2 separate regions of the Homo sapiens genome follow, and region 1 is linked to region 2. The links are contacts of gene promoters, found by promoter capture Hi-C in blood cells and fetal thymus (Javierre and others, 2016). All regions are on one chromosome and are shown on one strand. Each heading gives the region's core, a stretch centred on a gene start or on the middle of the fragment in contact. The rest is flanking DNA. Distances are from core to core; before and after follow the strand shown.

Region 1 (4,875 bases), core at 104-2,603, 35 kb before region 2:
CTTCACAATATATTGGTGAGCTTTTTCTTGTTAAAATTCTTTGGAAGTATAATTTTTTTCTGGCAGCTTAAAATTCCATTTCATAGTTTTACTATAATTGAATCATTTGTAACTGTTGGATGTTTAGGCTTTACTTATTTACTTACTGCTATAAAGCTGTGATGAGCACATTTATTGGCAAAAAACAGACACTCTCCACTGCTGGTGGTGAATTATGTTGATATGATTTTTCTTCACATATTAAATGATTTGAAAATGTTAATGTCCTTTCCAGTAATTCAATTTCTAGGAGTCTCTCCAAAGGACCCCAAACTTTTTAATTATATTCCATGCTTTGAACTGTCTTTTCCTTAGGATCTAAACGCTCTTCCCACAGCAATGCTTATTTTTATGGCTTCTTCAAGAACAAGCGAATAGTTTTGTTTGACACTCTACTAGAAGAGTACTCTGTACTAAACAAAGACATCCAGGAGGATTCTGGCATGGAACCCCGCAATGAGGAAGAAGGGAACAGTGAAGAAATAAAAGCTAAAGTTAAAGTGAGTTATTTTTTCCTAAGAGATTCTACCTTAGTTTTTATACACAGTTCCTGTGACAACTCAAAATAACATCAATTTCTAGGCAGTGAGTGTTGAATTCAGGGAGACTATCAGATGAAAACCATGGCTCCTTTATAGTTCTGGTATTTAGGAGAGATCACCACTATTATTACATGCTAACTACCTTGCAAGCTTTTATAGAATGTGGATATTAAAATTGGAAGCTCTTATAAGAAAATTCATATGATTATAAGCTATCTTTAAAACAGGAACTTGTGTGTATATATATATATGTGTGTGTATATATATATATAATTTCTTATGTGTTTATGATCAAAGAATTCCCACAAGCAAGATAAAGAGAAGATAAACATCTAATTTTTAGCTTTATTAAGACAGTAATTGTAGGCTTTGGCAATGGAGAGACTTGGATTTGAATCCTGGTTCTGTCATTTAGTAGCTTTGTATCCTTGGATACGTTGTGTAATTTAGTCTGTTTTATTTGTTTAACACCCATTTATGAAATGTATACTCTGTGCTGAGAGACTTTACTTGGCACTAGGTACACAAAAATAAAAAGGAATACCTTCCTCTTAAGCTTACAGTCTAAAGGGGAAATAGTCATGCAATCACAGTACAATACGTGAATTGCTACTGTCAAGCTTTAGATTCTAGATATAGTAACTGGAGCACAAGAAAAGACATTTCTCAAATCTGACATGAGAGTCTGAGAAAGCTGCTTCTGAATCCTTTTCGTGGATAAGATTGACTGATATTGATTAGCAGAATTTAAAGTATCAAGACTAAATGGGGGAGAGGGGACAATGATAAGAAACAATACAAACTGTCAGAAATGATCATCAGTATTTGTATGTGTGATGGAATGTGCCATTGCCTTTGGTGTCATACAGAGATGATTTTAGATGCCTGTTCACTCACTGTCTGTGTAACTCTGTGCAAGTAAGTTAAGCTTTCATTTATTTATGTATTTATTTATTTTGAGATGAGGTCTTGTTATGTTTTCCAGGCTGGTCGAACTGCTGGCCTCAAGTTACCCGCCTGCCTTGGCCTCCCAAAGTGCTGGGATTATAGGCGTGTGCCACCGCACCCCGCCAAGCTTTCTAAATCTTTGATTTCTTAACTGAAAGATGAGGCCAGTAGGGTTTCTCAAGCCCCACGCTATTTTTTTGAGCCAGATAATTTTTTTGTTGTGGGAGGTATCTTGTGCATCACAGGATGTTTAGCAGCATCCCTGGTCTCTCCCCACTAGGGGCCATTTCCCCTACAACCTCTACAAATTGTAACAACAAAAATGTCTCAGAATATTGCCAGATGTCCCCTAAAGGTAGCGGTGGGGCCGAGTCTCCCCTGGTTGAGAAATACTAGGCTAAAGATACCTACATTTTAGGGTTTTGAAGATTAAATGAAATAATATGTGTGAAATACCTTGTACTCTCTACCCAAATGTAGAGAGTACCAGAAAATGATTAGCATCTGAGCATCTGTTTTGACACTAAAAACAGGTTCTAGTAAAGTACCTAGCCTGTTATAAATACGTAGATGAAATAAAATTCTGTGAAGGGATTAGAAGACATCTTAAAGTCATCTTATAAATAGGAAAACTGAAGTCCAGAAAGAATAACCCAGTGATAACACTAGAGAATCATGCAAGTTTAGAAAGTTAATCTGCTTATGGTCAGGCACTGTGGCCCATACCTGTAATCCCAGCACTTTGGAAGGCCAAGACAGGCAGATAACTTGAGGCCAGGAGTTCGAGACCAGCCTGGCCAACATGACGAAACCCCTGTCTCTACAAAAAAATACAAAAATTAGTTGGGCATGATAGCGCACGCCTGTAATCCCAGTACTCAGGAGGCTGAGGCACAAGAGTTGCTTGAACCTGGGAGGTGGAGGTTACAGTGAACTGAGATCCTGCCTCTGCACTCCAGCCTGGGTGACAAAGTGAGACCCTGTCTTAAAAAAAAAAAAAAATTGCTGATCCTTTTGTTACTTTTTTTGTTTTTGTTTTTGTTTGCTTTTCTGGAAGTTTGTTAGATCTTTCTCTGTTTCAGTGTTCTAAAATTTCACATACCTTGATGGGGATCTGTTTTCATCTACCATGTTATATGCATCACACTGTTTTCATCCACTGTAATATATGCATTAGGCCCTTTTATTCTGGAAATCGAGGTCCTATGGTTGTAAGAAATTTTCTGAAATTATTTTGTTGATTTTTCTCCTCTCCATTTTTTAAATTCTGTGTTTTCAGGGCTCCTCTTACTCGAGTGCTGGATTTGTTATACTGAACTCTCCTATCTTTTTAACCCTCTTTTCCATTTTAAATATATCTCTTTCTGCTTTCTAGAATTCCCTCATCATCTTCCAATCCTTTATTGTATTGAACTTTCTTTCTTTTTTTTTTTTTTTTTGAGATGTAGTCTTGCCCTCTCGCCCAGGCTGGAGTGCAGTGGCGCGATCTCAGCTCATTGCAACCTCCTCCCGGGTTCAAGCAATTCTCCTGCCTCAGCCTCCTGAGTAGCTGGGATTACAGGTGTGCACCAGCATGCCCAGCTAATTTTTTTTTTTTTTTTTTTTTTGGTATCTTTAGTAGAGACGGGGTTTCACCATGTTGGCCAGGCTGGTCTCAAACTCCTGACCTCGTGATCCACCTGCCTCAGCCTCCCAGAGTGCTGGCATTACAGGCTTGAGTCACCATGCCTGGCCTTCAGCTTGGATTTCTAATAATTTTTTTATCTGAATTTTCCAATTTACAGCATTTCGTTACTTTTTCTTAGGTGCAATGTCTTAATTTTCTAAACTTTCTCTTTATATAATTTATTTCATGTTGCTTTTTTTGTGGATCAGATCTTCTGTGTTAACAGCTTACCTCATATATCTGGTAAATCCTTGGTTATTTGCTCCTTAGTAAGAGAATGGGACTAGGCCCCACACAGCGGCTCATGCCTGTAATCCCAGCACTTTGGGAGGCCAAGGCAGGTGGATCACCTGCAGTCAGGAGTTCGAGACCAGCCTGACTCACATGGTGAAACCCTGTCTCTACTAAAAATACAAAAATTAGCCGGGTGTGGTGGCATGCGCCTGTAATCCCAGCTACTCAGGAGGCTGAAGCACAAGAATCACTTGAACCCAGGAGGTGGAGGTTGCCGTGAGCCGAGATCGTGCCGTTGCACTCCAGCTTGGGCAACAAGAGTGAAACTCCATCTAAAATAAATAATAATAACTACTGTTAACATTTGTATATACTTTCAGTCTACTTTTTATATTTGTATATTTTTATATACACATTCACATTGTTTCATAATTAGAATCATACTATATATTTTTAGTTTGTGTCTTACTTTCTTCACCTAATCATTTTCCAATGTCAAAACATCATCCCTTTTTTTTTTTTTTTTGAGATGGAGTCTCACTTTTTCACCTAGGTTGGAGTACAGTGGCGTGATCTTGGCTCACTACAGACTACGCCTCCCAGTTTCAAGCAGTTCTCATGCCTCAGCCTCCTGAGTAGCTGGGATTACAGGCATGCACCACCATGCCTGGCTAATTTATTATTATTATTATTATTATTATTATTTTGAGATGGAGTCTTGCTCTGTCTCCTAGGCTGGAGTGCAATGGCGTGATCTCAGCTCACTGGTGATCTCAGCTCACTGCAGCCTCTGATTCTCCTGCCTCAGCCTCCAGAGCAGCTGCAATTACAGGCGCATACCACGATACCCTGCTAATTTTTTGTATTTTGGTAGAGACAGGGTTTCACCATGTTGGTCAGTCTGGTCTCGGTCTCCTGACCTCGTGATCCACCCACCTTGACCTCTCAAAGTGCTGGGATTGCAGGCATGAGCCACCATGCCCAGCAATATTTTGTATTTTTAGTAGAGATGGGATTTTGCTATGTTGGCCAGGCTAGTCTGGAACTCCTGGCTTCAAGTTATCTGTCTGCCTCGGTTTCCCAAAGTGTTGAGATTACAGGCGTGAGCCACTGCAATTGGCCCTAATCTTTGAAAACAAAATTTCTAATGATTTTGTAATATAATGTGACTGTCATATAACTTTATCATGATTTATTTAACTATTGTCCCATTATAAAGATTTCTATTTCTTCCAGTTTTTTTTTTCCTAATCTAAGTTAGTCTAGACTGTGAGCTTTATGTAGTCTGGGAATGTCCATCTTGTTCGTCATTCTATCTATCTTCAGTGCTTAACCCACTGTCTCATGTGGAGCAGTGGTTCAGGGAATGTTTTGTTAAGACAATCAACAGTTTTGAACAAAACTGATTATTTCTTTAAGTTAAAATCTATGAAGGGCTATTACTGG
Region 2 (4,870 bases), core at 588-3,087:
GTGCGGGCCGGCGCCGCCTATTGGCGACGAGGGGCACTACATCTCCGGGCACCCCGAAGTCCCCACCCCCACCACAGCGCTCACAAAGTTCTCCTTTGTCTGCCGCCTCCCTCCCGCCCTGGTCTCAGGTTAGAGACTTACGTCGATGCCGTCGGATCCAGGCACTCCCGGCGGTCCCGGGGGACCCGGGGGGCCCCGCTCTCCCGGTGGACCTCTCTGAAAAACACACACGGGGTGGGGCAGTCCTCAGACAGTGCAGGAAGCTGGGCGTCCCCGGGGCTGCAAGCGACCCTGGGAGCGGGGTCCTAGGGGCGCAGCTCTTCCGCGAACTCCCACGTATTGAGAATCTTCTGTATAGCAGGCACTGTGTGCCATTACATGCATTCATTATCTTACAGAATACTCAGAACCGGGAGGCGGGCGCTATTACGGGCCCCAGTTTGCAGTCGAAGAAACTGGCTCAGAACGTGAAGGGTCCATGGTCACTGAGAGTGGGCGGCGGCGCCAGGAGTCCGCCCTGGATCTGCCCGACTCCTTCCACTGTGCCAGTTTGCCCTTGCGCGGTCGCGGTGGGGAATAGATGGAGACGTGGACAGCTCAAATAAATCACAGATGGAATGTAAGGTTGTGCCTAGCAGGCTGCCGGCCCTCAGTGAGCGGTGGCTCGGGTTGTTGTTCTTACGTGAACGACAGGCAGAGACAGCGCCTCCTCCTCTCCCCATGGTGCGGGAAAACCCGACGGGAAAGTGGGGGAGGCGCAGAGAAAGGAGGTGTAGGGAGGTGAAGCGGGTACTATCTTCCCACTCGGAGCGCCCCTTCGGCAGCACAGCTGCCCGGTCCTCCCTCTGCTAAGCCCTGACTGCTGCAGGGGAGCAGGAGGAGCCGGCACCTCCCAGAAAGCAGACCCTCTCTCTGGATCCCGTTTGCCTGCAATTCAATGCCCCTGGGTGGGTGTGAGGTTTCAGGGAGGTCACAAGTCATATCAAGATGAGGCGAGCTCACAGCTGGAGAGTCTCCATCCTGCTGCCCATCTCTGAACAGATCAGAGATCTTAAAAGGCGGCCCTTTTAAGAGGCCAGCTCGGACCCAGGCAGGGGTCCCGGTGCCCACGACCTCCCCAGGCCGCGAAGTGCCAGGCTGGCGCCCCGCAGGCGAGCTCGAAACCACACCCAGCACCCGACCGGGCCCAGTCTCTGCCCTACCCGCGCGCCCGCAGCCCCCGGCGGCCCTCGGAAGGGAGACGTGGGTAGGCGGGCAGGGCCGAGAGGCCGCCTCGGGGCGACAGCGGCGTCTGGTTGGAGCCGGCGCCCCCTGGGAGGCGGCGGGGGCGGAGGCTGCGCAGCGGGTGAATGAGCACCATTGTATGCCCCGCCACCTGGGCTCCCCGGGCTGCCAGGACCGGGCGCCAGCTCCTGCCCCACGCTGCCTGTCCCGGGCCGGGCCGCGCGTCTGGGGACGGGTCCCGTTTGACTCTCCGGCTCAGCCACCTCCATTCACGGTGCCGCGATGGGCACCATGTATGCACCCACCGAGGGGACCTGCCCGCGGCGCTGTCCTCAGGTGGCCTCTCGGGCTAGGGGTGTCAGTAGGCGCGGGACACAGGCAGAGCTCCTCCATCCCGGACTCCAGACCCCGCACCCTGGACCCTGGCAGCGGAGGGGCTGCGAAACTTACAATCTGCGCCAGAGCGAGCACTACCACCTGGAGGAGAACAAGGAGGCTGCGGGGGGAGGCCGTAGCGGCGGCCATGGCTGGCGGCGAGACCAAGGGGGACGGGTGCGTGTCCGCGCACGCACCGACGGCAGAGTCTCCCGGCGCTCCTCCAGCGCTGGCTGTTCGCGGGCAGGGTGGGCTGGGGCTCCTGAATATGCGGGGGGCGGGGCGGGGGCCGGCGTGAGCTGTCACCTGAGAGGACCGGCGGGGTTGCCGGGAGGGAGGCCGGCGCCAGGCATCCAGCTCCGCCCCGCTCGGTCCAGCCTCCTGCGCCCACCCTCTGTCCTCGAGGGGCGACCGGGGTGCGGGTCGGAGATGATGGTCCAGTTTCTTTGTGAGAAGGCATAAGGCCGTCTGAGGTTCCCCTCGGGACCTTCAGGCCCCAGCACCTTCCCCCTGACGCACAGCCTGTGCCCCATCACTTACCCTACGTCCTCTCCAGGGCCCAGGCCGAGAGCACCTCGGGCTCTGCAGATCTTGCTGCAGGCTCTCCCCAGCTCCCGCCCACCTTGCTCCCCTCTCCTCTGGCTCCTTCCTCTCCAAGCACAAACAAACAGGCCTTTTCCATATTAATATGCCACAGTCCTTCCTGGATCAGCCGTCTCATGAATACTCCATCGGCCTCTTCCAGCTCTTTAGTGGAGCTGTGTGCACCTCCCCCACCCCCGAACTTCCTCACCTCGCTTTCACCTCCCTACTCTGTCCCAACAAGCAAATCTGTCTCCTGGAGGTCTGCAGTGAAGCCCAACCCTTCTTCGGTCCTCCAGGCAGGAAGCTGTTGGCATCTTCACCTGCCCTTGAAGTCTTCCCCATCCAAGCTCCTGCCATCCAGCTCCCCTTTTTCTATTGCCTTTAATTCTCTGCAGCTGCCTTAAGCACTGGTGTGTTTAGGATTGGGCCTTCTCACTCCATGTTCATAGAAACAACTACCACTTTATTCACCAGAGTTTCCGAACCCCGCTGTCCAGCATAGCCCGACTCCAGAGAGCCTTCCCTTCCCTCCCACTCACTTAGGCAATATTGGTAAAATGCTTTGGAATCTGACTTTTTCACAATTATAGATATGACCACAGGCACCCCAAACTCTATGAAGTCTCATTTTCCTCATCTGTAAAATGGGGATACTAATAGTCCATATATATATATATATATATTTTTTTTTTAAGACAGAGTCTTAAAAGGCTCTGGAGTGCAGTGGCACGATGTCAGCTAACTGCAACCTCGCCTCGCGGGTTCAAATGATTCCCCTGCCTCAGCCTCTCGAGTAGCTGGAATTACAGGCATGAGCCACAATGCCTGGCTAATTTTTATATTTTTAGTAGAGATGGGGTTTCGCCATGTTGGCCAGACTGCTCTTGAACTCCTGACTTCAGGTGATCTGCCTGCCTCAGCCTCCCAAAGTGTTGGGATTACAGGCATGAGCCACCGTGCCCAGCAAATTGTCCTTATCTTAAAGGGTTTTTGTGGAAATTGAATGAGATGACTCATGCGAGGCATTTAACCTCGAACCAGCACATAGTAGGTGCTTGATACATTTTAGCTTTCCTTATGATTTATGGATGACTGTTTTACTAGGTTGGCATCCAATGTGGGGAAGCTGGCCACAGGCAGATCAGCTAAAATGATGAACCTAGTTGAAGCTAGAAAAGTCCAACTCCATTGGGCAGGTTAGCAAAGGGCTCTGGATTTTGAAAGGTTGTCCTGGAGCTGAGTTTGGGAGAAAGAGCTTGAGAGAATGTAATTGCTCTGCCTAACAGAGTGAAGAAGAATTTGAAGTTTGTTGGAAGATGAGAGCAAGAGGAGGAGGATGTAAGAGAGGGATGGTGGGCATTGCTTGGGGTGGGTGGGGTAAACCTATAAAGGATTTTTAGAACTGGGATGTCCAAATTCAATTTTAAGTTGTTTGTTTCACATCACTTATCTCTCCATCTTTTGTGGGCTAACCACAAGAAAGGCCTTGTGTGAGTAAGTTTTCTTTTTGTGTGTGGAAATTATGGAAAGAGGATGAGTTTCACAGTCTGGACAGCACACATTGATGTATTAATTACCTGTTGCACCATAACAAATCACCCTAACATTCAGCAGCTTAAAATGACAATTTCTTTGGATTAGGAATTTGAGAGTGACTCTGCTGGTTCGGTCTGGCCTGGGGTCTGTTATAAGGTCATAGTCAGATGGTGGCTGGGCCTGATGTCACCTAGAAGGCTTCTTCACTCACATGTCTGATGTCAGTACTGGGAAGCCTTCAACCGCTGGGGCCGGAACAGCTGGAGTTGCTTGGACAGTTCTCTCCTTTATCTCTTTGTGGGCTTTCCATGAAGTTTCTCCAACATGGCAGCTTCAAGGTAGCTGAACATCCTCTATAGCAGCTCAGAGGGAGTAGGAGAGCACCAGACTGAAGAGAATTGCCACTCAGGACCCGTCCTTGGAAGTCATGCAGTGGCACCTTCACCACATTCTTACTGTTGAGGCAATTGCAAAGGTCTGCCCATGATCAAGGGGAGGGAACAGAGACCCCACCTCAAGGATGAATGTTAATGTCACATTTTTTAATTTTTTTTTTGAGATGGAGTCTTGCCCTGTCACCCAGGCTGGAGTGCAGTGGCGCAATCTCAGCTCACTGCAACCTCCGCCTCCTGGATTCAAACGATTCTCCTGCCCCAACCTCTGGAGTAGCTGGGATTACAGGCGTACGCCACCACTCCCGGCTAATTTTTGTCTTTTTAGTAGAGATGAGGTTTCATCATGTTGGTCAGGCTGGTCTCGAACTCCTGACCTCATGATCCGCCCGCCTCGTGATCTGCCCGCTTTGTCTTCCCAAAGTGCTGGGATTACAGGCATGAGCCACCGCGCCCAGCCAGTGTCACATTTTAAGAAGAGAATAAGGGATAAAATTTATTTATTTATGTCTTTCTTTCTTTCTTACTTTTGAGACAAGGTCTCCCTCTGTCACCTAGGCTGAAGTGCAATGGAGGAATCACCACTCACTGTAGCCTCAAGTTCCTGGGCTCCTGATCCTCCCACTTCAGCCTCCTGAGTAGCTGGGACTACAGGCATGCACCGCTGCACCCAGCTAATTTTTTATTTTATTTTATTTTACTTTGAGACAGAGTCTTGCTCTGTTGCCCAGGCTGGAGTGCAGTGGTGTGATCTCGGC

The links. Contacts are between HindIII fragments. The CHiCAGO score rates a contact against its expected background, and 5 or more counts as called.
Region 1: a fragment that was not itself captured here is called in contact with the fragment with the promoter of COL9A2 in region 2 in 8 of 17 cell types (endothelial precursors, naive B cells, M1 macrophages and 5 more); the score reaches 8.2 in endothelial precursors.

What each region holds. Positions count from the first base shown.
Region 1 is chr1:40,280,989-40,285,863 of GRCh38, forward strand. ZMPSTE24 (zinc metallopeptidase STE24) reads left to right here. Exons shown (of 10, transcript NM_005857.5): 7 at 355-539. Among named protein-coding and RNA genes, the nearest start is that of ZMPSTE24, 25 kb to the left of the region's middle. The HindIII fragment of the contact is 308 bases long and covers 1,200-1,507 here.
Region 2 is chr1:40,315,449-40,320,318 of GRCh38, forward strand. It overlaps COL9A2 (collagen type IX alpha 2 chain), which reads right to left and starts at 1,838. Exons shown (of 32, transcript NM_001852.4): 1 at 1,675-1,838; 2 at 142-216. The coding sequence starts at 1,749. RefSeq lists silencers at 83-142, 153-252, 1,013-1,522 and enhancers at 696-1,332, 1,333-1,969. The HindIII fragment of the contact is 22,313 bases long and covers 1-4,870 here.